Linked DNA regions of Homo sapiens: regions 2, 3, 4 and 5 are each linked to region 1. The links are contacts of gene promoters, found by promoter capture Hi-C in blood cells and fetal thymus (Javierre and others, 2016). All regions are on one chromosome and are shown on one strand. Each heading gives the region's core, a stretch centred on a gene start or on the middle of the fragment in contact. The rest is flanking DNA. Distances are from core to core; before and after follow the strand shown.

The links. Contacts are between HindIII fragments. The CHiCAGO score rates a contact against its expected background, and 5 or more counts as called.
Region 2: a fragment that was not itself captured here is called in contact with the fragment with the promoter of KCNMB1 in region 1 in 1 of 17 cell types (non-activated CD4 T cells); the score reaches 6.1 in non-activated CD4 T cells.
Region 3: a fragment that was not itself captured here is called in contact with the fragment with the promoter of KCNMB1 in region 1 in 1 of 17 cell types (M2 macrophages); the score reaches 6.3 in M2 macrophages.
Region 4: a contact is called between a fragment that was not itself captured here and the fragment with the promoter of KCNMB1 in region 1, in 7 of 17 cell types (activated CD4 T cells, non-activated CD4 T cells, total CD4 T cells and 4 more). The highest score is 9.2, in activated CD4 T cells.
Region 5: a fragment that was not itself captured here is called in contact with the fragment with the promoter of KCNMB1 in region 1 in 14 of 17 cell types (activated CD4 T cells, naive CD8 T cells, M1 macrophages and 11 more); the score reaches 10.3 in activated CD4 T cells.

The regions. Positions count from the first base shown.
Region 1 is chr5:170,385,986-170,392,126 of GRCh38, reverse strand. It overlaps KCNMB1 (potassium calcium-activated channel subfamily M regulatory beta subunit 1), which reads left to right and starts at 2,760. Exons shown (of 4, transcript NM_004137.4): 1 at 2,760-2,868. It overlaps KCNIP1-OT1 (KCNIP1 overlapping transcript 1), which reads right to left and starts at 2,634. Exons shown (of 3, transcript NR_109899.1): 1 at 2,524-2,634. It also overlaps a transcript of KCNIP1 not described here. RefSeq lists enhancers at 1-465, 718-1,218, 1,219-1,719, 3,644-4,144, 4,145-4,645. The HindIII fragment of the contact is 12,470 bases long and covers 363-6,141 here.
Region 2 is chr5:170,156,964-170,163,104 of GRCh38, reverse strand. No RefSeq gene overlaps it. Among named protein-coding and RNA genes, the nearest start is that of LINC01187, 39 kb to the left of the region's middle. The HindIII fragment of the contact is 4,941 bases long and covers 1,496-6,141 here.
Region 3 is chr5:170,618,896-170,625,036 of GRCh38, reverse strand. The region is part of intron 1 of KCNIP1 (potassium voltage-gated channel interacting protein 1); the gene reads right to left. LOC124901132 (a long non-coding RNA gene) reads right to left here. Exons shown (of 2, transcript XR_007059045.1): 1 at 5,571-6,141; 2 at 4,933-5,170. Among named protein-coding and RNA genes, the nearest start is that of KCNIP1-AS1, 60 kb to the left of the region's middle. RefSeq lists an enhancer at 1,178-1,472. The HindIII fragment of the contact is 6,388 bases long and covers 1-5,704 here.
Region 4 is chr5:170,194,607-170,200,747 of GRCh38, reverse strand. LINC01187 (long intergenic non-protein coding RNA 1187) reads left to right here and starts at 1,607. Exons shown (of 5, transcript NR_108022.1): 1 at 1,607-2,006; 2 at 2,919-2,996; 3 at 4,117-4,264. The HindIII fragment of the contact is 2,739 bases long and covers 1,606-4,344 here.
Region 5 is chr5:170,225,537-170,231,677 of GRCh38, reverse strand. No RefSeq gene overlaps it. Among named protein-coding and RNA genes, the nearest start is that of C5orf58, 4.4 kb to the left of the region's middle. The HindIII fragment of the contact is 2,901 bases long and covers 1,910-4,810 here.

The DNA of each region.
Region 1 (6,141 bases), core at 1,511-4,010:
TACAACATGGTGGCTGGTTCCCAGGTACATGTCCCGAGAGCGTGTGGGGGGAACTCGAGCCCCCGTCTATGACTTAGCCTTGAACATCGTGCTGTGTCCTTCTACCATATTCTACTATTGAGGCCCTTACGAAGCTCCACCCAGGGTGAAGGGGAAGAGACATCAATGCCCCTCTTGATGGTGGAGTGTTGATGCCACACTGTGAAAAGGGCACATGGAATGGGAAGTATTTGGTGTGACCATCTTTGGAAAGGACAATCTCCATACTATGTGTCAGGTAGCTTAGGTGATCTCTCATTCCTCAAAAACACTGAGGGGCTAGGTATAATTATCTCTATTTTAGAGACAGACAAACTGAAGCTTAGAGAGGCAAAGTAACTTGCTTGGGCAATTTATTTCACCTCTCTGAGGCTCAGTTACTCCCTCTATCAAATGGGTAGAAAAATCTCCACCTCAGTGGTCTATTGTGAGCCTATTGTGCTAGTACCTTAAGAAGCTGTTGGAAGAGTCAGAGAAGATATTTTGTGATCTCTGACACCCCGTACTAATGCAAACCGTCAATATTTATTGTTGCAGCATTGTTATTTTCTTGCCCTCCACCTGTAGCCATCTGTCACACACAACCCCGCAGCCAGCAAAGGACCTGGGTTTTCACCCACAAACCCTCGAGGACAGGGCTTGTCAATGCCTTTTGGTTGTGGCTCATTTAGGGGGAGCAGAAGACCCCACGGCCCCCCTTCCCTGTTTGTTCCCACCTTCCCTTGGGAAGAATGCTAAAGTTTGTTTATGATTTCCAAATAATATGTAGCCCTTAATAACTTATTCAGAGTATCACGAGCAAGGAGCCCTTCGGTTATACTCATAAATGGCAGCCTGTTGCACTGTGTATCTCTCCCCCAGGGAAGCAGGAGGGGGGCCTGGCATTTCTGGATTAGCCCCAGGAGGACTTTTCCTGCTTCTGAGTGGACAGAGGATCATCCTTGGAAAATTGCTCTTCTGAGATTGAATTCCAGATCCTACATCCCTCTGTCAATCTGCCTGCAAGGTCTGAAGCTGGTCTTAGACCCTCTGGTGCTATGGTGCCCATTAAACAGACACTGTAGTCTCCTGTTAATAAGATTCAATTAGGAAAGGGGTGGAGAAGGGCACTCACCGCCTGAGAGTGTGTCAGGGAGGCCTGAGTGGCTGCCTTCATTTCGCGCCTGCTGGAGGCAGGAGGGAGGAAGGTGGTGAGCTCGCTCAGCAGGGAAGGCCAGGCTGCACCCACCTCCCTGGGGGCTGGGGAAACTCAGGGTGACCTCCAGAGCCTCAGGTGGCAGCTTACTGTATGATCGAGGTGATTTTTAATGTCTCAGAGCAGCCCCAGGGTCATCAGAGACAGACCAAGCTGTGCCATCTGGAAGGGCCAGCTTCGAATCTAGTTCTGGCCCCTAGGGTTGCACCAGTGACTTCAAGCCTCCAAGTCTCAGTTTCAGGTTCTTTGATTCTTGGGTCAAGTGAAGGGTGGAGATAAGCTGCCTTCTACCACCACGCCTGATACTTAGGAAAGCCCCAATATCTGGGATTGTTTTTGTTGTTTTGTTGAAAATATATATATATATATATATATTTGTTTTTTTTTTTTGAGACGGGGTCTCGCTCTGTTCAGGCTAGAGTGCAGTGGCACAATCTTGACTCACTGCAACCTCCGCCTCCCAGGTTCAAGCGATTCTCCTGCCTCAGCCTCCCAAGTAGCTGGGACCACAGGCATGCACCACTATGCCCGACTAATTTTTGTATTTTTAGTAGAGATGGGGTTTCGCCATGTTGCCCAGGATGGTCTCAAACTCCTGGGCTTGAGCAATCCATCTACCTTGGCATCCCAAAGTGCTGGGATTATGGGCGTGGGCCACTGTGCCTGCCCTTTGTTGCTGATTTTTAATCCTTACTTCCACTTTACAGATGAAGAAGCAGAGATCTAAAAGCATGTTTTTTGCCTGCAAATGCTGACATTCACTTGTCTTATTGCTAGGAAGAAATCTCTGTACTTTCGCGGTCTCTGGGAGGGCCCCTGGTGAGCAGACTGTCCCTGGACCTGGTTGGAAGCAGTTGTGGAGCTCTCACTACTCCCAGCTTCAGCTCAGTTGGTCCTTAAAAAGTCAGTTCTCTCCCCTTGCCATAAATCCCCACCGTCTCTAACTCCCATCACTACCCTAAAGCAAAGTAGGTTTTAAAAATGCCAGTAACACAAGTGAGAAAACTGAGGTCATTTAACGATAAGTTTGGGAGTAAAACCAAAAACAAAAAAGGAAACTGAGGCCCAGAGAGGTGCCATAACTTGCTCAGGGTCACACAGCACGTAAGTGCCAAAGGCAGGGAGCTGTAGCTGCTCCAGCGTGGATATGCCAGGGACTAGTGACAAGCCCAACCCCTCCAGCCCAACTCCACCCTTCCTCATGCCAACAAAAGGAGAATCATTTCCTATTTCTGGCATCTTTGCCAGCCCACAGAGACAGAGAGAAGAAGAAATATTTCCAAATATACCAGGCTGATCTTTCGTAGTTTCTCAGTCTTGCTGTCTGTTGTTGTTTGAAATCTGTTTCCCACGAGACTCTGGGAAGATGGAGGTGCAGGGCTTGGGTAACAGCTGCCTTCCTCAGGGCTGGGTACCTGCTCTCCGAGTCTGTGTCTCCAGGCTGTGTGCTCAGACTTGACCATGTTTGGGCATGGAGGCTTGCCCCAGATGGGGACCAAAAGCTGCTTCCCTGGAGACGGGCGGGGAGGCCAAACTTCCTGCTGAAGCTCTGTGGCCTCTTTTGGGGTGGGGGCGGGGGTCCAGGCAGAAAGAAACTGTCTGCTGCTCAAGACCCACAGGACGCCGGGAAGACTGTGAGTACCGGGCCTGAAAGCACTTGGGAAGTGATTTCTCTGAAGACCGGGCTGGAGGGAGACAGGGGAAAGCAGCCTGCCACGGGGCAGGGAGGGAGGCAGGCAGGAGGACTCCCTTCCTCTCGGGGCTGTCCTTCTGGATGGAGGGCCCGTGGTCTGGTGGCCAGTGGGGAGGGTGGCACAGTGGCCAGGTTACTCTGGTAGTAAGCGCCCTGGCCCTCTAGGTCCCAGTTCTCAGAGTGGCCAGAAGGCTGCAGCCTGGAGATTAACACCAATGCTGGCACTTGTCACCGGTAGAGAGGTGGGACAAAAATAGATTCATCAAGAGGGGTCCAGACTTCTGCTCCAAACTTTCAGGGTTTCCTTCGTTAGTAGTAATAGCTAATATTTACTGGGGGCTGATTTGGGGCTAGGTGCTATGATACATGTCTGATACTCAATATGGCATTTGATCTTTAGCTGAACTCTCTGAGGCAGGTACCATGGTTCTCGTTTCACAGTCATGTGGTTGCTAAGTGTAAGTGGCAGAGCCAGGATTTGATTCCATGTCTGAGGACCTCAGAATCGCCCTGTCCACACCCCACCAAACTGTTCAACAATGTACTCTATTCCTTGTCCTTCTAAGGAAAAGGATGTCGACCCAGCTATCAGGTCACCCAGGACACTCCAAAGTCCTGCCTTCCTTTGTCCTTCTCCATCTTCTCTGAATCTATCCCAGATCTCAAGTGACCTTTCTAAATGGGAAGATATATCCTGGAACTTCAGAGATATTTAGAAATGCTCAAAACTGGGAAGTTCTTCTTACAGTCTAACTGAAATCCCTCCTATGATAGCTGAAACCCACTTCTTCCTTTTCTTTCTGTCCCTTGGGGGATATTGACAGTTCCCATCCTTCCTCCCGCCAAAGGTTCTCCCTTTGGATGCTGAATACTAACTTCTTGCTGAAGTCATATCTACACTGAACCCCACGCATGGTCTTAGGAGGATTTATCATGACTCTATAAACTCACTCAGTGCAGGCAACAATCTCATCAGACCATTAGAGACGGGTCAGACCTGAATAAGCCAAGTTTCCAGACTTCTCTGTGACAGGGAAGCCTCTCCTTTCCTTTCCTTCTGAGCTCCTAAAACTGGTAAAACCAGGTTCCTGCCTTCACCAGCCTCAGGAGTGCCCAGGGGCCTGAGAGGGCACTAGAAGCCAAATAGCAGAGGAGGCCATGGCCCTGGGCGCTGGGGGGGGCTGATTAGCCAGGAAGGAGCCACAGGAAGCCCCCACAGGTGCGATCCAGTTCCCCCAGGAGAGAAATGGCTTTGTTGTGGGCACTCAGCCCTAGGCTTCCAAGATGGGATTTCCCATTGGCTTCAAATGATTTATGTCTCACAGTATCTGGGGTGGGGCCAAGTGCCAGTGACCCTTGCAGGTCCTGGGGAAGCAGGCTGTTGGGGCTTTTAGCTTACCTCCAGGTGATTCTGTTGCTTTACCTGTGAATACATGGAGAGTCTTGTTCAACTGACGCCAGGTAGAAAAAGGCATGGGCTCTCCCATTCCCACAAGATCACAGAACAGGAGGAAAAGGATTGAATAAAAAGAGTTGAATAAAACATCTCTCTTTGTCGGGGGCAATTTCTGCTTGCTTGTGCTTTTATAATGTCTCCATTAGAATGCAGGAGAAACTCACCTCCTGGTGCCAAATAAAGGAGAAAAAGTTGTCATTGGATGTCACCTCTGCCGATCGATAGGGGAGGTGGACCAGCTCACTGGGAAGGTGTGATGGGTATCCGTGGTGCCTGACCCTGGTCTCTTCCCTTTAGCGGAGATGCCCGGGTATGAGGGCAGCCTGGCTAAGGGGAGGGAGTCAAGAATCTCTGAATATTTGAAACAGTCTAGTAGTTAAGAGACGCCTGAGCAGAAAATAGAGCACTTTGCAGAAAATCTCTTTGGACTAAGGCCTGTCACCCGGACACTGGCTAATTAAACAAACAAAAACCATAATATGTTTATTACTTTAGGGACCTGGCAAGGAGAATAAAGTCCCCCTGATATCTGGCTAAAATTTCCCCTAAATTCCCCTAAAATTTCCCCTAAAATGGAGGATTACATTGATAGCTTCCTGGTATTTTTGGTAGAAATGGACTCTGGTTACTTTAAACAAATAAAAACAACAGCAAATAAATTTACCAGAGGCTCTAGGACAGCTTGCGGAACCATGGGAAATCACGCGGGGACCATGGCTGGGCATCTCTGTGGCTCCAGGCGGCATAGATTGAGGGGCTGTTTCTTGAAGTCTTTGTCAAGACTCACACTCCTGGGGGAGCGATCAGGAGCCTAGCAGGGGAGGGTGGAATCTTTGCTTGCATTGGGGTGGAGTCAATGTCCAGGGGAAAAACAAGGAGTTGCTGCCTAAAGAAAGAGGAGAGAAGGAAAGCAACCACCAGCAGAATGTGCCCATTCTGCTTTGTCCCAGGTGGCTTCAAGCCCTGAAATAAGAAAGCAGTCGCTGAGGCCACCATGATGCCTTCTTTCTTCTTTCTTTGCTTGAAGTAGGGGAATGTTCCTTACAAAAAAAAAAAACACCGGAATATGGTAAACCTCCTGCCTCTCCTGACAACCTGCAGCTGCCTTCTGGGGCCCTCCTCTCCTTTCCCTGCCTGTGCCCGGCCCAGCTAGCCCTGCCACAGAACTGTTTCTGGGCAGAAATACTCCAAGTATCCCTGTGAGATAAGTGCCGTGGAAGGAGGTGCATGGATGATGCACATGTACTGCTCGCTCACCGCATGGGACCTATGACTGTTGTAGCAAATGATCATAAACCTGACGGCCTCAAACGACAGAAATTTCACCAGAAGTCCAAAATCACCAAGGTGTCTGCAGGCTGCACTCCCTGCAGTGGCCGTGGGGGATGAGCCATTGTTCCTTGCCCCCGCCAGCTTCTGACGCACTCCTTGGCCTGTGGTCACATCACTCTAATTGCTGTCTCCCTGGTCATATCACCTTAGCTTTCTCATCTGTTTAATCTCCCTTCACTTCCCTCTTATTAGGACCCTTGGGATTACATTTAGGAGCTACATGGATAATCCAATATTGTCTCCCCATTTCAAGAGCCTTTATCTTTTTTTGTTTTTTGTTTTTTTTTTTGACGGAGTCTTGCTTTGTTGCCCAGGCTGGAGTGCAGTGGCGCATCTCTGCTCACTGCAAGCTCCGCCTCCTGGGTTCATGCCATTCTCCTGCCTCAGCCTCCCCTGTAGCTGGGACTACTGGCTCCCACGACCACA
Region 2 (6,141 bases), core at 2,717-5,216, 230 kb after region 1:
GAGCTGGGGACAGTGGCCCTTGACCGTCAAGATCCATTCAGACCAGCTGTGAGGCGTCACCTGCTGTGACCCCAGTTGGTGGTTCAAGGTTATAGTAAACCACCTCACCTCTGTGCTAGGTGTTCTCTGTGGGTCCCTTGCCCCCATTTTTACCATACATATTAACCATCTCAGCTGCCAGAACAAAATACCATAGACTGAGCGGCTTAAACAACAGCCATTCATCTTCTCACATTTCTGGAGGCTGGAAGTCTGAGATCAGGGTGCCAGCATGATCAGGTTCCTGGCTCATGGTGCCTTCTCATGGTGCCCTCATATGACAGAGAGAGCACCCACTAGTGTCTCTTCTCATTAGGGCACTAATCCCAGCCTCATAACCTCAACTAAACCCAGTTATCATCCAAAGGCCTCACCTCCAAATACCATCACATTGGAGGTTAGGGCTTCAACCCATGAATCTGGGGGGACACCATTCAGTCCACAACATTCTCTCTGCTTCCCCATCCTGCTCAAGCCCCAGGAGGCTGGCTTCTGGCTGGGTCCAGCCAACTGGTGGCACCAAAAGGAGCTTGAAGGGCCAGAGGAGAGAGAGTTTGGTGCATTTATTATCCGAGGATTTTCTAGGCTACAGGTTGATAGCAGTGGTGCTTCATCATTCAAGGCCACAGTTGCGGCACTGCAGGACTATTCTACAGCTACAGACCTGGCTCGGTTCAGGTGATCACCCCCTCCTTTGCCCATTCAGGTCCTTGGGGGGGTGGCAATGGCATCACACAATTAACAACCTGGGTGCCTTCTTACCTTTCTTGGTGTCTGTCCTTAAGCCTGGTCCAGACTTTAGTACGTAGGCCATTAGATTTTCCTGAGTGAACTCTTCTGAGTCTGCCATCTGTTTTTGGCCGGGACTCTATGCAAAGGAGCCTCCAGGTGTCCCCATCACAGCCTAAGCCCGGAGAGACAGGCATTTACAATCCTGAAAGGGTCTGGGCACAGCTGGACAATACCGGAGCAATGCAAGCCTCCCTTCTTTACCGTTGGCAGTGGTTCTCAAATATTTTGGTTTCAGGACCCCTTTACATTCTTAGAAATTATTGAGGCTCTCAAAGAGTTATTAAGTGAATTATACGAATCCATAGTTACTATATAGAAATAAAATTGATAAATTTTAAAATATGAATATATTCATATGAAACATCATAAACATGATACATGTTAAGACAGTGTTTTATGAAAAATAACTTGATTTTTCCAAAACAAAACAATAACATTGTTTTACATTTTGTGGATCTTTTTAAACATCTGGATTACCGGAGGGTAGCTGGATTCTCATTGGCGTCTGCATTCAATCTATTGTAATATGTGGCTTTGGTTGCAGTATAGAAGAAAATATCAGTGGTGCTGCACTGAGTTTTTTTGAAACACTGCCTTGTATAATATATTTTTTTAAATAGTTAAGAATACCCCTAATGTCATCAGGAGACTTTAAGTACAAGCTTACAGTGGCAGAAAAATTTTTCCAAAATTCTGTATATATATATTGCACAAAAGCTCTAATTTTGTCAATGCAACAAATTCTGTCAGGTTTTTTGAGTTGGCAAATTTATTTTGTTTCATTTTCAAGAATATGTCTGGAATACTCAAGACTGAAAAACCATCGTCATCTGCCAGTTGTTCTTTCAAAGTAAAAATGATGTTCCGCTGAAAGAAGTAGCAAGTTCAGCTTGCAACTCAAGTCCAGCTTGCAACTCAAGTCCAGCTTGCAACTCAAGTCATGGCAAATGTACTTTGCCTACAGCCAAGCCAAGTATGCAACGAAACTTCATATGCAGCACGAGTGCTTTTTGCACACTTCCTGTTTCATTACACAGAATATTAAAAACACATGAACTCTGACTGCTTTGTTAAGGGCATTCTAGAGCGAAACTAGCTTTTTTCCCATTTGCGTGAATGGTGAAGAATACAGTGATCACTAGTGCAGTTTGGTGCCACCACCTTGATTCCTGCTAAGCCTTGGCAGTTTTACCTTTCATTGCTTTTGCACTATTAGTGCAAATGTCAGTACAGCAAAAAAATCTTATTATTATCAAAATAACATTGATCCTGCAGATCCTCTGCAAAGGTCTTGGTGCCCCCAGAGGTCCTAGAACAACGTTTTGAAAACAACTGCTGTACAGTACAGAATATGAAGTAATAGGGAGTGTTGAGCAAACCTTTATTTTGCCCAAAGACCTTTTCTAATCTGGAACTCAATTAAGCCTCTGGAATCTAAGCTCTATGAGAGCAGGAAGTCTTCACTCTCAGAATTTATCGGTGCTTGCATGTGAAATGTCAAAAAAATTTATTGACTTAGAAAGAGGATTTAAATTCAATATAAACCAATAAATAATATGGTGCTTCTGATTTTTTAAAGGCTATGTATCAGCTAAATGGATGTAACAATGCTTAATGAAAACAGTACCTCTGAGCCTCAGTTTTTTTCATCTGCAAAATGGACTTGATTTAATCCACTGCTTATCACAATTTTCCACTGAAGAACTTTAAGGAGCAAAGGGAAATGAATGAATATTTCTTGGGGGAGCCAGGAGTAATCTGTATCCAACCTATTTTCTTTTTTTGTTGGAGTACATGTGATAATCTAATACATTCATATAATTTGTAAAGGACAAATCAGTGTACTTGGGATATCCATCAGCTTGAATATTTGTCTTTTTAAAATGCCAGAAACATCCCCAACCTATTTTTTGAAATCGCTTGTATTTTAATTTCTACAATTTGGGGGACCTTGTAATTCTAATCCATAAAATATCAGTGTTTAATAGAAAGCAATGTTTTTAAATAGCAACAGCAAGTTTAAAAAGATCGATGCTATATTTACCCAGATGCAAGGTTGGGTCTCAAAGGTTATGGTATGTGAATTTAAGTAATAGTCCTGAGTTCTGGTGTTGGTTCTGCCACTTCCTCTTTGTATGACCTTGGGCAAGTTATGTTCTTTTGAGTCTCAGTGTCCTCACTTCAAAAAATGAGAATAATGCTGATCGCAATTACAATAGTAAAACTGTAAGGCAGGGCACGGTGGCTCACACCTGTAATCCCAGCACTTTAAAAGGCCAAGGGGTGGGGGGGCAGATCACCTGAGGTCAGGAGTTCAAGACCAGCCTGGCCAACATGGCGAAACCCCATCTTTACTAAAAATACAAAAACTAGCCAGGCGTGGTGACACATGCCTGTAGTCCCAGCTACTTCGGAGGCTGAGGCAGGAGAATCGCTTCAACCCAGGTGGCAGAGGTTGCAATGAGCTGAGATCACACCACGGCTCTCCAGTCTGGACGACAGAGCAAGACTGTGTCTCAACAACAACAACAACAACAGCAACAGCAACAACAAAAATAGTGCTTTCAACATGGTGAAACCCCGTCTCTACTGAAAACACAAAAATTAGCTGGGCATGGTGGCATGTGCCTGTAGTCCCAGCTACTCCGGAAGCTAAGGCAGGAGAGTCACTTGAACCCAGGAGGCAGAGGTTACATGAGCCAAGATCACACTACTGCACTCTGGCCTGGCGACAGAGAGAGACTCTGTCTCAAAATAAATAAATAAATAAATAAATAAATAAATAAATAAATAAATAATAATAATAATGCTTCCAACTCCACAGGTGGAATTCCTGAGAGAAAAAGATAGCAATGTACCTCTAAGTGTGTACAGAAGTTCTAAGTGCCATGAAGTCATCTCATCCCTGGCTCCCTACCAAAACCCTTGGATTCTCAGAGCAGGAAGCACCCAGAGATTTCGCACAGTGTTGCTGGTAGCCTAGGATTCCTTAGAGATGGGTCAGAGTCCTGGTGAGCTGTGTTAGAGAAGAAAATTATTCTGACACATTAACGTGGTGAGGAAGACTTAAATACAGCAAAGACAGAGGGATTTGTAGCCAATGAGCAGAGTGAGGGGTCATTGAATGGAAAATTACTAAGTGGAGACATCAGGGATAGGGGATTCTTGCTAAACCAACTTAACAGAATTTCTGCTGAAGGCAGGCCAAAGACTTAAACATCAAAGATGGGGAATGAGGAATTTGAACAGATAGTGAAGGTGTCCAAATAGCAAGCATGTGGAGATTCTAGGAAAACTGACTTAGCAGGATTTTTGCTACAGTTGGACCAGGAAGGCCAAAGACAAGACCTAAGGATGAGGCCTGGTTTAAAAGAGGGCACAGAGGAGCCTGTCCGAAGTTTGGTCAAGGACAGAGTTTTAATCAGCTGGGCTTGGACACCTCTTCTCGCCACCTCCCATTCATATGCACCTGATCAGCTCTGTTTGAATCTGTTTTAATTTGAATTCATGGTTCTTCAGGGAAAAACACATTAAGTACATAGAGAGATATTCTATGTTCATTGAAAGAGCATCCCAATATTGTCGAAATACCAGTTATTTCCAATTTGATCTATGGATTCAATGCAATCCCAAACAAAATTTCAGCAAGTTGGCCAGGCACGGTGGCTCATGCCTGTAATCCCAGCACTTTTGGAGGCCGAAGCAGGTGGATCATCTGAAGTCAAGAGTTCGAGACCAGCCTCGCCAATATGGTGAAACCCCATCTCTACTAAAAAAAATACAAAAATACCTGGGTGTGCTGGTGGGCATCTGTAATCTCAGCTACTCGGGAGGCTGAGGCAGGAGAATCGCTTGAACCCAGGAGGCAGAGGTTGCAGTGAGCCGGGATTGTGCCATTGCACTACAGCCTGGGTGACAAGAGCAAAATTCTGTCTTAAAAAAAAGATCAGCAAGTTATTTTGCAGGTATCAGCAAACTGACTTTAAAGTTGATATGGAGGAGCAAAAGGCCCAGAATAGCCAACACAATATTAAAGGAGAAGAGCAAATTCAGAGAACTAACGCTATCCAACTTCAAGACTTACTGGAAAAGGATCATAACATTGTGGTATTGGTGAAAGCACAGACAAATAGATCAACAGAACTGAAATGGGGATCACAGAAATAAACTCACACAAATATAGTCAACTGGTCTTTGACAAAAGGATCACAGGTACTACAAGGGAGAAAAGATAGCCTTGTCAACAAATGGTGCTAGAAAAGTGGATATTCACATGTAAAATAATAATAATAATAATCTAGATGCAAACCTTATACTCTTCACAAAAATTAACTCAACCTTGATCATAAACCTAAATGTAAAATGCAAAACAATAAAACTCTTAGGAAATAACATAGAAGAAAATCTAGATGACATTGGGTTTGGTGATAACTTTTTAGATATAACACCAAGGGCTCATGGTAGGGACTACATGGCTATCTATAGGGAGCAACTGTTATTCAGGGGCTCAAAATGCAGGCCTAGTCTTTCCAGATCTTCTAGATATGTCTAGATCCTTTTCAAGCAGAAGCAGGAAATCTCTTTTGTTATATGAAACCCCTTGATTTTTGAATCATGACAATTCATTAAATATATTTAAAAGACCATATGGGTCAAAGGCAGTGTGGGGGCCGCCATAACGCCTGAATGTGCCTTCTTCTGAAAAGTAGGAAGGATTTATGAATTATGCTGTAGAGATAAATGAAAGCTCTTGAAGATTATGACAGTCCCAGTAAGTGAGGAGTCTTTGGTCCAAAGCAAACTCTGGCTTTTCCTTCTCTAAAACTAATGTTCAAAAACATTTAAACAAATTTAGTAACTGGGTATGCCCAAGGGGATAGATTTCAATATTCAGGCTCCATCAGACTACAAACTAGGCTTTGATCTAGATAGAAATAGGAAGAGCTTGAGAAACTCAAGTGAAAGTTAAAAGGCCTTTAATTTAGGGTTGAATTAAAGCTGAACAGCAAAGGATCCAATGCTGAGGATTTTCCACTCAAACCAAAGCAAATGGCTGAGAAATGGCAAACAAAAGCAAGTCAGTCTCTGGAAGTATTGAGGAAAGTCCATAGAAATAAACCCATCAAAGAAACTTGAACATGAAGAAGAAAAGTTGGGTTGGTGTAGCCCCTAATTTAGCCAAGCAACTCCAGCAAAGCTCTAACCTGCTTCATCCTGGCTTTTAGGGGAGGAAGGTTCAAATCCCAGCTCCTCCATCTAGTAGCTGTTGTGATCTATGGCAGTGTCTGAATCTCACTGACCTCTGGTCTC
Region 3 (6,141 bases), core at 1,261-3,760, 230 kb before region 1:
GGGCATCCATCTGCAATAGACTGGAAGAGAGCCCTCTCTGCTATAGTGCCCCAGGGAAGAGCCTGCATCTGGATGACCATGTGCCATGCTGGAGAACATTCCAGTCAGCCCATGTTGGCCAACAGAAAGTCACCAACAGGCCCAGCTAAGACAGAAGACCCTGCCTCTACTCTGCCAATCCTCCTCCTGCCCTGGGCCAGGGTAAGGATGGTGAGGAAGGAAAGGAGAGTGAGGAAGCCAGCTGCGCTTTTCTCCCCTTCTCCCCCACTCCCCTCCCCTCTCCTCCCCTCCCCTCTCCCCCCCCACCTCCCCGGTCTCCTTTCCTCTCCTCCCCTCCCCTCTCCTCTCCTCCCCTCCACACAAGAACTGAGGCACCAAGACAGGTCTGAGCTCACGGGCAGGCGAAACGTTTAAACTGCGTGTGAGATTGACATTTTAATTGGATGGGACTTTCCAATGCTTGAAAACTGAAATTATTATTGTGATGAGAACCGAAGTGATCAGAAATATAGGAGAATAGCCAGAGATGTTGTAAAATGATTGTAAAATGGAGAGGAAGGAAAACGAGAGAATACAGTTAAAGATAGAGTTTGGAGAAAGGAAGGTGTTTGTTGTTTGTACCCCTTCGTCAGTCAATCAATTGGTTACCTTCTGCTTCACTTAGTTGTTAATTCATTTCCTTCCTCCTCACCTCCACTTGACTCTAAGCTCAGCAAGATCAGAGACTGTTCCTTTTTTCAAGGTCTCTGCTGTATCCCCTGCACCTAGAATGGCTACTGGAGAATGGCACATAGTAGATGCTCAATAAATATGGTTTGGATTAGTGAAAGAACAACAAAATAGGTGCTCAAATGTGTTGATTTATGGGTATGACCTATTTGATTATGCTGTTCGAATCTTTTATTTTGTACTCGAGGAATGAGTTTGCCCTGGTTAAAGTAGCCCAGAAAACCTGGGCCCGGGAGCTGAGAGGACCAGGGGATGGATTGCCCAGGTCAGGGCATCAGGCCAGGGCCACTATTTCCCAGACACGGGGCCACTGGAGGCAGGGAGCATAGAGCCTCAGGGAGTCGGTTCCTTGGGGCTGGCTGGGCGTGGAGTGAAGGCTGGGCCTGGCCTCAGTTCTGGGACACAGGTGTGGCTGAGCTCCTGCTGAGAATAGATTTGGAAGGGCTGGAGGCTCAGGGCCCCCAATGTAAGACCTCCCAGTGTCCAAATGAGAACCTTTTCCTGAGTACTTGGGCCCCGCACTTGACATCATGTGCGTTAGTCTTCAGGCCACCAGAAGGGGGCAGCGCCGTCACGCCATTTTGCAGAGCCTTGATAAGCCCATTTGGAGTTCAGCCCCTCCCGCCATCCTCACTATCCCTTTTCGTCCCAGACTTCTTTACCTGAAACTTCATGAAGCACTTTTCGCATCGGTTTCGTCTGAGGGGAGAGGTTGGGGAAAGGAGGGTGTATTTGCCTCTTAGGGTCACCATAACAAAGTATCACAGGCTGGGGTGGTTTAAGACAGGGGTCCCCGGGCAGGTCGTGGTGGCTCACGCCTGTAATCCCAGCACTTTGGGAGGCTGAGGTGGGCGGATCACTTGAGGTCGGGAGTTCAAGACCAGCCTGACCAACATGGAGAAACCCCATCTCTACTAAAAATACAAAAATTAGCCAGGTATGGTGGCGGGTGCCTGTAATCCCAGCTACTTGGGAGGCTGAGGGAGGAGAATGGCTTGAACCCAGGAGGCGGAGGTTGAAGAGTCGAGATCGTGCCATTGCACTCCAGCCTGGGCAACAAGAGCGAAACTCCATCTCAAAAAAAAGAAAAAAAAAAAGACAGGGGTCGCCAATCCCCTGGGCCACGGATGGGTCTGTGGCCTGTTAGGACCCCGGCTGCACAGCAGGTGAGCTGGCGAGCAAGCATTACCGCCTGAGCTCCGCTCCTGTCAGATCAGCCGCCGCATTAGGTTCTCATAGGAGCATGAACCCTATTGCGAACTGCGCATGCGAAGGATCTAGGTTGCTCACTCCTTATGAGAATCTAACTAATGCTAATGCCTGATGATCAGAGGCGGAACAGTTTCATCCTGAAACCATCTCCCACCCCACACACCCTGTCCGTGGAAAAATTGTCTTCCACTGAACCAAAACCGGTTTCTGGTGCCAAAAGGGTTGGGGACCACTGGTTTAAAGCAACAGCTACTTATCCCTTCCCAGCTCTGGAGGCTGGGAGTCTGAAGTCAGGGTGTCAGCAGGGCTGTGCTCCCTCCAAAGGCTCTAGGAAAACCCTTCCTAGGCTTCCCTGGCTTCTGGTGGCCCCAGACACTCCTTAGCCTCGCGCTGCATCCCACTAACCTCTGCCTGTCTTTGCACACAGCCTTCTTCACTGCCTCTCTGTATCCACTCTTTTTTTTTTTTTTTTTGAGACAGAGTCTCACGCTTGTCACCTAGGCTGGAGTGCAGTGGCGCGATCTCGGCTCACTGCAACCTCTGCCTCCTGGGTTCAAGCAATTCTCTTGCCTCAGCCTCCCGAGTAGCTGGGATTATGGGTGCTCACCACCACACCCAGCTAATTTTTGTATTTTTAGTAGAGACGGGGTTTCACCATGTTGGCCAGGCTGGTCTTGAACTCCTAACCTCAAGTGATCTGCCTGCCTCAGCCTCCCAAAGTGCTGGGATTACAGGCGTGAGCTACTGGCCCCGGCCTGTATCCCTTCTTTTTATAAGGACATCAGTCACTGGATTTCGGATAGACCCCAAATCCAAGATGATTTCATCTTGAGACCCATAACTGAATTAAACTTGCAAAGATGCTATTTCTGAAAAAGGTCACATTTGAAGGTTCTGAGTGAATATGAATTTGGGAAGGACGCGGCTCCACCCACCACAGACGGAATCTTGATTGAGAACACATTTTGCTCCAGGGACCGTGCAAAGCACCTTCATCCTTGACAAACTGGAAGGGAAGCAGTATTATTTCCAGTTTTGTTGTTTTCTAGACAAGGAAAGTGAGGCTCAAAGGGATTCAATGACTTGCTGCAAGTCACACGGCTGCTTGCAAGGGGAACTGGGACTGGAACTCAGGACAGCAGACTCCACACGTCTCTATACTGGCTTATGAGCAGCTTGAGGACAGAGGTTTTGGTCTTCGTCGTTCCATCTCTCTTCTCCTCTCATTTCTGGGCCTAGTGCTCTGCATACTGATGGCTTTGAAAACTGATAAAAAGAAGGGAATAAGGCCAGGTGCAGTGGCTCACAGTTGTAATCCCAGCACTTTGGGAGTCCAAGGCGGGAGGATCACTCAAGCCTAGGAATTTGAAACCAGCCTGGGCAACACAGTGAGACCCTGTCTCTACAAAAAATTGAAAAATTAGCTAGGCGTGGTGGCATGTGCCTGTGGCTCTAGCTACTTGGGAGGCTGAAGTGGGAGTCACTTGAGCCCAGGAGTTTAAGGCTGCAGTGAGCTATGATGGTGCCAGTGCACTCCAGCCTGGGTGACAGAGCAATAAATCAATACATAAATAAAAATAAAAATAATAAAGAGGAGTATGACTGACCTGCAGAGATTCAAGTGCTGACCCTCATGGCTGCTGGGGTGCTCACAGATCTCCCCCACACCACACTCTGTGGGGACAAGTGAGAATGCCCTCTCTTACTACCTTGCTGCATCTGCTCCACTGAGGAACGTTGCAGCCCCTATAATCTTAGATCTACACTAGCCCTGGAAAGCAGGAAGGGCAGCCATAATGATGATAAAAATCTCAACCACAGCTGCCATTGATCAAATGCCTACTGGCCTACAGGGTCTAGGCCAGACTGTTTCTATGCCTAATGTCTTGGAATCTCCAGGGCAGCCCAGCTAGGTGACCCTTAGTATCCCCATTTTGCAGATGGGAAAATCGAGGCTCAGAGAAAAGAGTGTGACTTTGGGAGCTTGGAAGAAGTTGAGCTAGGATTCTGGCCTGAGTCTCCCTGAGTCTGGAGTTGGTGTTCTTTCTGGGGCCTATCTTGCTTTTTCTCCAGCTTCCCTGCCACAGCTTCCCAGTGTGACCAGTGATGGACACCTCTAACACATAGCAGACTCCCTCAGTAAAGGGAGGAGATGGAAGGATCCTGGAAGCAGAGCATACAGGCTGTCAGTCAAGAGGATACCTGCATCCTTGGGGAGGGCCCTCATGCCTCTTTGAGCTTTAAATGATTTAAGAGGGGGCAGAAGTCATTTCCTGGAGATCCAATTAAGGCAAATGAATTTGCATCTCCTAAATCGGCTCACAAAAATCTTGACATGCTCCCAGTGGATTTGGGGGTGAGTTTAGGAGGGTTGAATACCCAAAGAAGATTTTTTAAATTAGTCAAGATGCTTTTTGTTTTATTTCTCCAAAAATTCAACCTGATACGGCTTTAAAAATAGAGAGAATCCATTACATGGAACTAAGAAGTCCATAGATCAGGCAGGCATCAGGCACAGTTTGAGCAGGACTTTGGCATCATTTTCTGTGATGCGTAGCCCCTCCCCAGGCAAGTTTTGTTATCATGGCTAGTTCCCTCATGGTAGCACAATGGCTGTAGCAGCCCCAGCCCTTACTTTTGCAATAAACTCCTTCCAGAGAGAAAGAAAGCATCTCTTTCTCCATCCAACAAACCAGATTTCTGAGCTTAAATCTTATCGAACTAATTTAGGTCAAGTGCCTTTCCTGTACTAATGATGAAGGCCTAGAGAACCAATGGAATTAAGCTGCTGGGTTCAAGCCCATCAGAGCCTATTCCTGGAGCTGGGAGTGGGATGATTCCATCTCAACTGCTACAGGACAGGGAAAGGTTGGTGCATGTGTTGGAAGACACATCAACATCCACTACAAGGCTCTCTAGGGACAAGGGAAGTGGAACTGATATTCTTTGAGCACCTGCTATGAACTAAACCCAATGCATTTTGACAACATATTGCATGGTAAATAATTTTACTTCCATTTTTGAGATGAGTCAACGGAGACTGAGAAGTTTGTAGCTCATAACACTCTTGAAGTTAGTAAGTGGTGGACTATGGGTCCAAACCTTGCTCTTGGCATCTTCTGAAGGGTTTCTGGCTCTGTTGCCTCTCTCTCCTTCTTCAGACCCCTCAACCCTCCTTGAAGTTGGAGAGCTGTGATTGGGGGATGCTGACATAGTGATCTGAGGATTTCTAAAGGTGGACAGAATCCAGTGTTAACAGTGCCAGGAATTTGCAGAATATGCTAATTTTCCCTGGCACCATGACTCAATATTCTCCTCATCAGATTGTTTGGCAAAGGTACCAAGAAGGCAAGAAGTTTATTAAGGTCCCATAACAACTAATTATGGGCCAAGAACAGCAAGAGCCAGGAGGCCTGAGTTCTAACTATCTCTTATCTCTGTTGCTTTAAAATGTTCCTTGTATCCTGGGCTAAAGTGTTTCTGTTTTTGGCACTGATGGATGCTGTGGGCACCTTCATCCAGGCTTCTTTGATGGGTCTCATTTTGGTCAAGACACCTTCACCCCAGGTCTGATTTTGAGCTCCTTGGGGCCTTCCAGAAACTCATTCCAATCTAGCAGACCTCCTTACCTGCCTCCTACCTGAAGGCTCCTGGCAAACCTTTGTGTCCTTCGGGGTCTTACATCTCATACCTCCCTTAGGAGGGGCAGGACTCATTTTCCCTGGGGGACAGAAGGGGAAACTGAGGCTCAGAGAGTTAAGCTTCTTGCCCAAGGTCATGATACCTGATGACCAGAGACAGGCTGTGAACTTGGGTCCATCAGACACCAGTGTCCAAGTGTGCCTCTTCTGTGTGGGGCACTGGGAAGAGATTTGAAGGGAAGATGGCATGCCATCTGTGTTCTGAAGGATGAGGGAAAAGTTAAACTATTAAGTGATTCTTTCATTGATACAGGGCTTTTCAGATTAGTGTGTCATTGCCCATGGAAGCATCCATTCATTCAGTTATCCATCCGTCTCTTCAACAGCTGTTTATGGAACACTTACCATGTGCTAGGCACTGAGGATACACTGTTGAAGAAACACACACAGTTTCCCTGCAGGGACCTTCCTTCCAAAGCTCTGAGAGCTTGGGAGGGTCCCCAGATCTAGACAGTGTCCCCCATGACTGCAGCTCTCCATATAGAGCTCAGTAGGAATG
Region 4 (6,141 bases), core at 1,726-4,225, 190 kb after region 1:
AGAGTATGTCTGTGGAGGATGCATTAGGACTGAGTTGGGGGGTCATGACATTTGATCCCTGAAAGCAAGAAAACAGCTTCCACTCTCGGATATGGTTTCCTCTTTTCTTTGATTGCAACTGGTTGTCATGATCCCTCCAGTCCATCTTGGGTGCAGAAACCCTGGGGATTGCCAAAGGCTCCTTTCTGAACCATCTTTTCAAACATGCGGGACATTCCCTGTCCAAGTGAGCTGCAAGGACAAAATAGAAATTTGTGGATGCAAAATGAGATTACTGATGTGGTTGCTGAAACTTATAAAACTCCCTCAGTGATAGGGGTTGTGGTGGCCTGTAAAGGGGATAATGATGACACCTTCAAGCTCTCCTTTTATACCACACAGCCGGTGGAGTCAGGACTTAGGTTCGAATCCAGTCAAGCTATATACATCTGTGTGACTTGGGCAGACACTTTTCCTCTTTTAAGTATCAGTTTCCTCACCTGTAAAATAGGAGTGATAAAACCTACCAAACCTGTGAGATGTCCCCATGACAGAGCACCCAGCACAGGCCACGTAAGGGCTTTCCTGATGTAAGCTTAAGCAGGACAGGCTCGGGCTCAGGACTGAGGCCTCTGGAGCCACCCTCCTACAGGCTGGGTGGCCATGGATAATGTGCTTCACCTCTCTGAAGTCTCGGTTTTCTCACCTGTAAATTGGCCGTAATAACACCTAGGGTATATTTCCTAGGGCTATTGGGAGAACCAGTTAGAATATATTTTTCACATAAAATGTCATTCAGGTAATTATGGCTGTTTAAAGCCTTATAAACTTAGATCTTGCCCTTGTAGACAGAAATGAAACAATTGCTGTGACTGGGTCTGATATCATAGCCAAACCCCTACACAAAACAACAGACTTATCATTCAAACAAATCAGTGAAAATAATTGGTCTTGTAAGTTGTCAATACCCTGTGCAACAAAAGCATTGGTGGAATGACCTTGAGCATTAAGGGGGAGTTGTAGGGATATCTTCTAGAGAAAAGATGGAGTTGTCACCTCCCATGTGCTCTGCTACATCTTCTCTTTAACTTTTCCCTTTGCCCAAAGCAACATGGACCATCTGTTTAATCAACCTCCACCACAACTCCATTCCCCAGTAAGCCAAGTCAGCAACTACTCAAATGCCTCATTCTAAGATGTGCTGATGGAGTGTGGCCTGCCTCAGAGGGTCTCTCCCTTCAAATAGGTCTATATTGTCTGGTTTGTTTGTGAACAGAGCCAGGTAGGTGCCGTGTGGCTCAGAGAGGTGGCTGGAAGTGACCTTCCATGACTCAATTCCACAGGTTTGTTTGCAAGAACACAGACACACGAGTGGCCACTGACAATATGTGTTCCAACATTATATACGGGGTATATTTTGCTCAGAAACATGCCCTGTTAGTTGTTGAAACCTTTTTTGCATTCCCTGAAACAAACGACACTATGGTGTATTTTCTTTTGGGGGGCAGTAAATAAAAGTCTTTTATGTTGACAATGATAATATTATATTCTACAATCTATTTGCATTTCTCTATCCTGTGGATTTTATTGCTTAGTATAAATCCCCAGGCTGAGGTGCATTAAGCTTCACTCAGAGAGAAACAATGCATTTTATCATAGGGCCGGACAGCTATATGCACAAGATGCTACCTGCAGAGATTGGTTTTTGCCCAGATGTGCAGGAGAGATGCACAGAGAGGAAGAAATGCATACATGTGTGCAGGTTTTGGCGTGTGCACAAGAAGCCTGGAAGGATTTTCTTTGGATCTACAGTCAAAATGGATTTCCGAGAGGAAGCTGTCTGAAAACACACCTCTTCCCTGTGCTACATACGGTCCCATCTCTGCCAGCCAGGTTGTCAGGAAAGTGATCAGCACTGGCTTCAACTCTGGCTAGAGCTCTTTGGCCAATGTGATGGGCAGAAAACTGGAATGAGGACAGAAAAGCACCTCAGAGGTTTGAAGAGTCTAGTCTCTCACCACCTTGCTGTAGGTTTTCTGAATACTTCTGAGTTTAGGAGCATTTTTTCTCAACAGGCAAGTCAGGAGCTGCTAAGATAAACCATGGCAGTAAGCTCGAGCCAGTGTTCGTATTTGCCATTGATCGGCCACCAAGTGCTTGCTATGTGCCATGCATTGTGCTAAGCACTATCTCATTTAATATTTACAGCAATCTTATGAGGTAGATGCTACTGTTATCTCCATTTTACAGATGGGGAAACTGAGGCACAGAGTTCCACAGCTGGTAACTTGAGGAATAGGAATTCAACCACTGGAGAGTCTGGCTGGAGTTTTTTGTGGTAGGAGAAAATATGCTGTCTAAATTTGCCTTGGGAAACCATCATGGTGGTCACAAAACCACTTCTACGGCTTGCCTTGACCTAGCAGGAATGAAGATGTAAAGAAAGAATGAGCGCGTCATGGTTATGATGGGATGATGATGTCTGTTGTGTTGTTTGGTGTCAGTTTCTGTAACGCCTTTCTATTTCAATCAAGGCTATTATCTTTTCCTCTGTTTTAGTGAAGTTTCCTTGAAGTAGAAAATGGGAGTGTATTGGGCATCTCAGAGTTTTCAGCTGAACTGAAGGGTCTGATGGTAACTTTACCCCCAAATCTCTGAGAGAAAAGCAGGGAGTCCCTGCTTCAGCTCTGCTCAGAAGAGCCTCCCTCACATGGTGGTTTCTGTGTCACTAGACTGGTTAACCAAATGGTTCTTCTAAATACCCAACTTTTAATAGAAACTCCTGCGGCTTGGATTATTAAAGTCCTAACATGCTTATTTAATCGTGTTTCAAGTCCATCTATCTTTTTTGAGTCTAAGGAAGACTCACTAGGTCAGAAGGAGTAGAGGGAAGAGGATTAATACATGATTTTCTTTTTCCCCTTTTTCTTTTAACTTAGGCTGAGACTTATTTGAATGCCTGTTTCATATGGAGCTTTTAAGTGTAACAGTTGTGAGTGAAATTGCCCCTTTTCAAGGTAATTGAATTCCATTTTTCACTTTCCATTTCCCTCTAGAAAAATCAAAACGTTTTCAGAGCTTGGCTTCTTAGTGGGTGATTTTCTAAGGTGGGAACTTTAGAACCATAAAACATTCTAGTGTGGCAAAGGCATTCAGGAACCGGATGACCAGGCCCCTTCTCCGCAGGTGAACAGCCTCCACCAGCCGGTCTTGGAGAACATATTGATTTCACTGTGTTTTTATTTGAAACACCAAAGGAATGCCCATATCTTGTCCTTGGGCCAGGGCTGTGGGTTAGGGGAGCTGGGTTTCTGTCCAGAATCTTGTCATCTGTAGGGCAGCTGAGGGGCATTATTACCCAGAGGTCCCTGGAAACCTGTGCTAAATTGGTTTGGATCAGTGTCCGTGAAAATGTTGGACAAAGGAGAGTCGATTTTAGCTGACACCTGGACACGACTTTAAATAACACTGTATCACGGAGCAACACAATGTCCTCCCAACTCTTTTTCGGTCTTTCCGATTATGTTAGGGACAAAGTCTCAGTTTGGTGCTGTTGTGGTCGAACTATCTTCTCATCTCTGTTTTTTAAAGTCAGGCAGATCAAGCCTTACTCCTAGGGCTTTAGAAGGTAATAGTTTCTGATTTGGATTTAATCACATTGTTTTATTTCCTTTTTAACATTTTTATGACAACTTTTGCTTTATAGCAGTTTTAAAGGTAGGAAAAAATTTTCGTTTGAAAACAAGTTGGTTTGAGATGTTTTTCACTCTTACATAAAAGACCCACCTTCACAGCGTATGAGCTTCTAAAGTTGGGGAAGCAGTGGCTTAGGTGGGCAGGCAGGAAATTCAAGCAGGTTGGTTTCTGCCAAAGTCAGAGATGATTGCCACTTACTGGAAGGCTGTGTTGGAACAGAGTGGGCACAGGCATTGGGAGCAGAGCTGATTTCCAATCTTCCTGCTGCCCTCGCTGCCTGTGTGTGCCGTGGCCTTCTTGAGCTTTAGTTTTCTCACCTGTGGAACAGGTTTCATGAGCAGTTGGAAGGAAGCAAATGAGCTTCATTTTCTACAACAGGGTGGGTGGTGTAGTTGATATTCACCCCAAAGGTGCAGGATCCCCACTTCTGTTTATTGCCAGCGCTCCGAGTTTGCTTCTGCATGGAAGGGGAAGATGGACTAGAGCTGATACCTCCTGCACCCTGGTGAAGAAATGCACCCTGAGGCCAGAAAATAGTACAAACCCATCTGGCTGCAACAGTCCAGCAGCATGAAGATCAAAGTCACGTGTGAGTTTTGTGCACGGGCAGCCTTTCCTCTTCTCAGGCTGCAAATCTTTGGCAATCGGAGGCAGGCTCTGAATTAAGCTTAATTAAAATTCACTCTTAATTAGGGCCATTACTTAAAATCAATTCTACATAATAAAGCTGTGTAATCATAATTAAGCCCCAGAAATGGGATTAGGAAGCACAGAATGCAAAAGCCAAACATGGGTGAGCCTGGTGCTGGCAGGGGCAGTGGCAGAGACTTCTCGAGTTAACAGAATTTTTAAATAGCCAAGGCCCCGTGAGTGCTCTGATGAGAACCTGGGTGGCAGGCAGCACAGTGAGCTAATCAGAAAAAGGATTTGAGATGAATGGGCCCCGAGAGGCAAAGCTCCATGGTGTGGTGTTACTGGCAAGAGAAAGGAGCGGCATAAAACAGAGGGGACCAGATGAGTCTCCTCTCCAGGCCCTGTTTCCCCAGCTGTGAAATCAGGGTGGAGGGCAGCTGTTTCCCAAACAAGGATGTCTCTAATGACTGTCTGCAAACTCAGGACCCCTGATGTGGGGCTCTCTTGAGGGGATTTCATGGCAGCAAAGTCAGGATCGATGCCATCTGCTCGTAGCATGACAGGGGTCCTGTGGAGTTGAGTTTTGTAGTTGTTGGCATCATTGAGGTGGTGGTTGTCTATTTTTTAACTAATGAAGGGGGGGGGTGTGAAGTAATATTTGACAATCTCTTACTTCCACACTGATGAGCACATAACAATTAGGAGCTTGGTTTTGGAATGAGCCAATCAATTTTGAATTTTAGATGTGCCAATTATCGGCCAAGTGGTCTAGGGCAATATTTACTTCACTTTTCAGTTTATTCAACTGTTGTATGAGATTATAATAATAGTAGATACCTTGAAGGTTGTTCTGAGAATCATGCATATGTGTATAGCGCAGTGCCTGCCAAATAACAACTAATTTTATATTGTTTCAATGTATTTATAGTGTTAATTATATTTACATTTTGAATTGGCTGTGCATCAAGCACTGTTCTGTTTTATATGTATGAGCTAATTTTATTTTCACAATCGCTCTGAATAAGCATTATTATTTTCTCTGATTTCTAGATAAGGAATCTGAGGCTCAGAGAGGTTTAGTTCCTTGCTTAAGGGCGCAAAGAAAGTAACTAGCAAATAATAAGAGCCGCATAAATAATATTATTATAAGGATACTATCTATCTGTATGTGCTCAGAAGCTACAGTGAAATCCCCGGGGAAGTGGCTTACCTGTACTCATCCCCCAGAACGCAAGCCTGTGCTTCTAACCCTGCCAGAATAAGGCCAGGCATTTGAGTTCAGAGCGAAAGGGTCTACCAGGTGCGGATTCCGGAGCTGTGGAATTGGAGCCGGGAGGGAAAGCCAGAGAGAGCTCCTCCCCATATCTGTTTTTCTTTAATTATTTTATTTTGTTTTATTTTATTTTATTTTATTTTACTTTACGTTACGTTACGTTATGTTATTTTATTTTAGAGATGGAGTCTCTCTATGTTGCCCAGGCTGAACTCAAGCTCCTGGGCTCAAAGGATCCTCCTGCCTCCATCTCCTGAGTAGCTGGGATTGCAGGTGCACGCCACCATGCCCAGCTCCGTATCTGTTTTTTGATTTAGTGTTTTAGTTCAGAGGGTGCCTCACACCTCTCACGTCACATATGTGAGTGCTAACTGTGTGCCTGATGCTGAGTTGGCCTGGACATACACTATCTTATTTAGTTTTTACGACAGCCCAGAACGTCAGGAAGTATCACTCCCATTTTGCAAATGAGGAAACTGAGGCTCAGAAAAGCAAAGCTCGTTGACAAAAGTGAAATATATCATTTGACCCCAAATTGGCACAGAGCTGGAAATTGGGTT
Region 5 (6,141 bases), core at 2,111-4,610, 160 kb after region 1:
TGAATCACGAGGTCAGGAGTTCGAGACCAGCCTGGCCAACATGGTGAAACCTCGTCTCTACTAAAAATACAAAAAATTAGCTGGACGTAGTGGTGGCCACCTGTAACCTCACCTACTCAGGAGGCTGAGGCAGGAGAATCGCTTGAACCCGGGAGGCAGAGGTTGCAGTGAGCCGAGATCGCACCACTGCACTCTAGTCCAGGTGACAGAGTGAGACTCCATCCCAAAACAAACAAACAAAACTCATAAAGTCATTGGAAAAATAAAGACAGTGAAAATAAGGCATATTTTAATCATGTATATACGCTCGCAACCAGTTGCAGTGTTTTCTGCAGCCTGATCTTTTTTGTTAAAATGGGTTCTTATTAAGTGTTAGAGAAGTGTTAAAGACAGTCTAGCACAAACCAAGACTTTCTTCTTGATATAATTAGAATGACTGAAAGAGTTAAAAGAGGAATACAAATACGGGGAGACCAACATAGGGTAAGCAACATTTATTTCTAAATTAGGACATTAATGTATAAAACCAAGCAAAAAGAACTGGCTTCATTGTATTATAAAAGCAAGGATAATTTAAAATCAAAACAGAAGGAAGAAAATAAAAGGAGGAGGGTCTTAACTTCAGAATAAGACTATCTTGACAGAAAGCTTACAGGATGTATCCTTTCTCCTCCTCACTTATTTTGATGATGAAGAAGTAAAAACTTCTTCACTTTTAGAAACTCCCTGTGGATAACTACAGGAGTAAATAAGGTGCTTAGGAGAAGTAGGTGGGTGGAGATAGCATTAAGACTGAGAATCCTGAAAATCAAGTGATGATGGGCACTGGGGTTGGTAGGCTGGAGTGTCCTATTGTCCCAAGCACACTGAACTCATTTTTGGGTTCCTCAATTGTTTGCAGGAGCTATCATAGCTCTACTACCTGTGAATTGCAATCCACAGGATTTTTGGCAGAATCTAAAGGCCTTGGATCCATCCAAAATGCTGACTGCTTCTTATGAATATATCAAAACTACTGCTATTTGGAATAGATCATCATTAAGCCATTAGTTATTCACAAAGAAAAATCAACTTTGTGTTCCTTTTAAATAAGTGTTCTAAGAGGAATAAAAGAGATTAAAAACTCAGAAAAAGATAGGTTTAGTAATGCATTTCTCTCTATAAAACTGTCTTGGAGCAGTGATGACTACTTATTGCACTGTTTTCTCTACTTAAATAACTATAGATTTTGTCTCTTTGTGTTTTTTTTTCCCTAATAAAATGAAAGTTTAAAAGCATGGTTTGCTACTCAGGGTTAGAGACTTACAGCTAAGGCCCTAAAACAAAATCTATCTTCTTTAATAAGTGTGAAAATACAACACTTTACTGGAACCCAACACAGATTGCAGTTGTTGATTCTAATGTTAATCAAACAAAAGGGATTTAAAAACTGGTAAATGCTCCCATAAATAGAAAAAGGTGCTGCAGACCAGCAAGGTGATCAAGCGTTTTATGGAGTTGAGTGTGTGCACCTCGGCTAATTTTATTACAGATTCTTGACATAAAGTCTTCATTTCCAGGAAAACAAATTGAGTAAATTATCTTACTTCTTCCACTAGATCTCAGGGTTCCCATTTTCCTCCTGTCTGTTCATTATCAATTAAGAGTGCTGGCCTCTGTGTCTAGGGACCAGCTCCCTGCTGGAGCATCAACTCCCTCCTGAACCTGACTTTGTACAACCCTGTGTGCACTAATTTGGGAGGCAGCAACATAAGCATGTGTTGGATCATTACCTGGGGAGCATGACCAGCATTTGAAAGATTAAGCAGATTCCTGTGTACCCGAACAACTATTGCGTTCACCAAAGCCAATCACTTAAAGGAAGCAAGAAGCAAGCTGACTTCTGCTACCCTGGTGTGAACTAAAAGCTTCAGTGTCTGCCCACTGTCTTCTTCGAGTAGCTGATGTTACATTATCCAGAGTCATTTTTTTTTCTTTAGGAGAAACACTTCTGAAATATAGAAGGATGTTATTAATGAACATCCATATTGCTCCTACGTTAACTGAAGCATTTTCACTTCTAATTAAGAAATTACAGTTCTGTATCAATATTTCCCTCTGAACAGGGTCATGAGATGTAATATAGGACACCCAGTTAAATTTGAGTTCCAGAGAAACAACAGATTTTTTTTTTAGTATAAGTATGTCCTGAATGTTATATGGCCCCCACTTATACTCAAAATGTATTCGTTGTTGATCTGAGATTCAAATTTAATGGGAAATCCTGTATTTTTATTTGATAATCTGGCAACTCTCTACCCAAAACACTTCAACCCTGAAGAAAGAAAAGCAAACAGTGTGAAACCTTGTAGATTCAGTAGATACGAAAGCCAAGAGAATGTTGAAGTTTTCCACCGTGATGTCCAAAATAATAAAACAGATAAACTTACTGTGCCAGAATCTGGCTCTCCTCCTCCGTCAGCATCCCTGGAATGCAAGAGAGAAGCTAGGTTTTTGAGACAGCAGATGGAAGGAAGCTGACAATATTCAACATGGCACTGTGTTTTGACAGTTGCTTGCTATGCCTTTTTGTCTGAAAACTCTTTGTGCTTGGCTTTTTAGAAGATGCCTTCATCCGGCAAGGCATATTCATGACACAATTTGTGTTAATTTCCAGAGATCCACCAATCAGAGAATACCTGTCTGTTCCAAAATAAAATATGTTTCTAATTCTCTCATGTCAGGCATCCATTCCCCCACAATACCTCCTCTGATTATTAAAGACATAGATCCTGGTGGATGTCATTTCCCTCTGGGCATTGCCCCACACCCCCACACTGTGCCCTCATCAGCATCCAGGCAATGAAGAATGAGCGTCTTTATCAAAAGACGTATTGTGTTCATGAAGTCAATTCCTATAGAATATAAGGGTGTACTCACGTTTTGTTATGAAAAAAAAGAATGCATATGTGCATAAGAGCAAATTTGGAAGCGTATCTACGAAAATGTTTACAAGGATTATTAACATTAATGATAATGAGATTTATTTCTTCGTGATTATTTATTTAGCCTAGTCATAATTTTAACCCCTGTCAGGTGATTTCTCAGCATGATACATCAATCACTTTAAAGCACAGCGTCTCAGACTCTGCAGTGCACAACTTAGGGAGCTTGTGAAAATGCAGATTCTGGGGCCCACCTCAAAGACTCAGCTTTAGTGAATCTAAGGTGAGGCTCCCTGAATCTGCATTTGTAATCCCCTGCCCTCCCGACTCCTTCTATTTTAACCTAGGAAGTCTTTGGATCATGTTTGAGAAACACTGGCTGGCAGCTTACGAGGATACGAAGACTCAATGTCTATATTCTCTAAAGTGAGAAGAAGGAGATGGGCATCCCAGCTTCAAGTTCTTTCTAATTTAGGTCTTTGTTTCTTCTATTTCCTAGTAATTTGTTTTATTTTTATATTTATTTATTTATTTATTTGAGACAGAGTCTTGCTCTGTTGCCCAGGCTGGCGTGCAGTGGTGCAATCTCGGCTCACTGCAACCTCAGCCTCCTGTGTTCAAGCAATTCTGCCTCAGCCTCCTGAGTAGCTGGCATTACAGGCATGCTCCACCACGCCCACCTAAGTTTTGTATTTTTAGTAGAGACAGGGTTTCACCATGTTGGCCAGGCTGGTCTCAAACTCCTGACCTCAGGTGATTCTCCTGCCTCAGCCTCCCAAAGTGCTAGGATTACAGGCGTGAGCCACCACACCTGGCTGTATTTTATTTTTTGATCTCTAGTTTCACTTGCAACCATAATGGAAAGTCTAATGCTAACATCTGAGATGTTAGATGATTTGTAAAATATTTATGTTTTTATATGTAAATTTCCATACTCAAAAACCCCCTGTACTCCTGCCTCTACTCCCACTGCCCTGGTCCTGCCCTGTGTTACAATAATGTCCTTCCTGTCTGCTCCCACCACCTACCATCTTTGTCCCTAAGAGCCACTGTATATGCTCCAGCCTCTAGTGGGATGAGCTTTTTAAAATGTAAATGGAATTGTGTCTTTCCCCTGCTTTAAAGCCTCCCAGGGGTTTCCCTTAATGGAATAAACACTACACTCCTGACCCTGGTCCGTAAGGCCCCACAGCTCCAGTCTCCCTTCCCCTCACTCTCCTCTCAGGCCTGGCACAGGCCAGCGGTTGTTTGGAACCTGTTTCCTTCTGAGCTTGCCATGTTGGCTCCTTGTTTTGCTTTAGGGTTCAGAGAGGCCTTACTCTGATATCGCCCCATCCTCTCTCCCAGCCCCTTCTGTGTTTCCATGCAGTACTTGATATAATTTGTTATGCTTTATTTATGTTTCTGTTTACTTTTTGTTTTGGTTTTGACCTGTCTCTTTCACTGTAATATAGTTCCTGTCAAGGGCAGGAACCAAGGGTCTAGTTCACTGTTATCAACGCTGTGTCTAACACAATTCCTGGCACATGGTAAATGCTCCATACAACCTTGTTCAGTAGCTGAATGAATGCAGTGGTCCCTGCTATAGTGGTATCCTGGACAGTTGGAGACACCCAGATGCAAATTACCCCCAGATGCCCTGATGGACTCAACAAAGCTCTGAGGGCAGAAGTCACACCTGCATGCCTTCTAGGTCCTCTGAGAGAAGGACAGACAGCCCCCATGGTGGCCAGGGAGAATGTGGGGGAGTGACAGCAGTCTAAACTAAAGGCATTCTCCTTTCATTCCATCTGCTTTCTGATTCTGTGGCACAGACCAGAGATCCAATAGAGCAGTGGCAAGCCGATTCAGTACTGTTCCAGAAGGCCATTGCAGGCCTGGAAGCTTCCACACAGCCTCATGTGGGAGGGATTACCCAACCCCGGTTTCTGATAAAAGAACTATCTCAGCTGTGGATCATCATTTGAATAAAAATCAAATGACTTAGGATCTGTCCAAAATGAAGAATGTTTTAATACTTTGTGTGTAAAAACACTGATATTTTGCTTCTTTTTTATTAAACAGATTTTATTATTTTTCAGAATCTTGTCAGCATAATCATTTTATGGGTGGATGAAATATTCAGCCCTGCTGCTGCAGGAGTTCTTTCACAGCAATTACCTTGTGGCACTTTTGCTGTAATTAGGTTTTCGCCTAGGATTTTTCCCTGGGTCTGGGTAATAAATGAAATATGACCAGAATTTAAATTTGTCAATTACAAGCAAGTGTAGTGCGTAAACACACAACAGAGCCATGAATTCCAAACCACAGGCTGTTGCTGGGGGCCAGATGCTCGGAAAATTAAAATGGAAATAAAACTACTGACTGGAAAACGAAAAGTGGCCCCCAAAGAAAGCAAATCTCCCCTAACACTCATGCGTGATTCTACCCAACTGTGCGAGCTCTTGACTACAAATTCTTAAGCGTGAAACTGGCAACTCAAGAAACAAGCAGGGATTTGCATTAAAACCGTCTACGCAGGGCTCTGATCTCCTGCCTTATGAACTCCTGTTTCTTGAGGCCAGATCAAACAGTTTTTGGACATAGTGGGCCAGGGTTCCATGATGGTGATGTTCTCTCCAAGCTGCTCAAGGACTGCCAGAGATTTGGGCACAGGATCGGCTATCTTTCAGCAGCTGCTGTTTTCGCTGACCTGACTTCAGTAATTGCTCCTATGGGGCCCTCTGCTGGCCATCTTTTGCAGAAAGGGAAATCTTAGGGATCTGCACTGTTGGAGACTTTGACAAATAATGTTTCATTAAAACAACCACCAAACAAAAACACACTTTTTTTTAACTTTCATATATAAGAAGCCCTAGACAAGGGAAAAGGAAGTCACAATTTTATAAACTTCCCAAGTGCCATGCATTTAATATTCATACAACAAACCTTTCTTGAGCATCTGTTGTGTATCAGACACCATGCTAAGTTTGAGGCATGTAGGGGTGAGCCATGGAGCTCATGGTCTGGTGAAGGAGACAGACTGGAATCCACACATCACACAAATGCATATTAAGTGAGGATTCAATTAGAAGCTATCAAGGAAGGAAGGATGTCCCAGTGGGGACGGTGACACGGCTGGGGCAGCTTTCAGGGAGGGCTTCCCTGGAAAGGGAACATTTGGGCTGAGATGAGAAGGAGAAACGAGCATGATAGGCAGAGGGAACAGCATATTTCA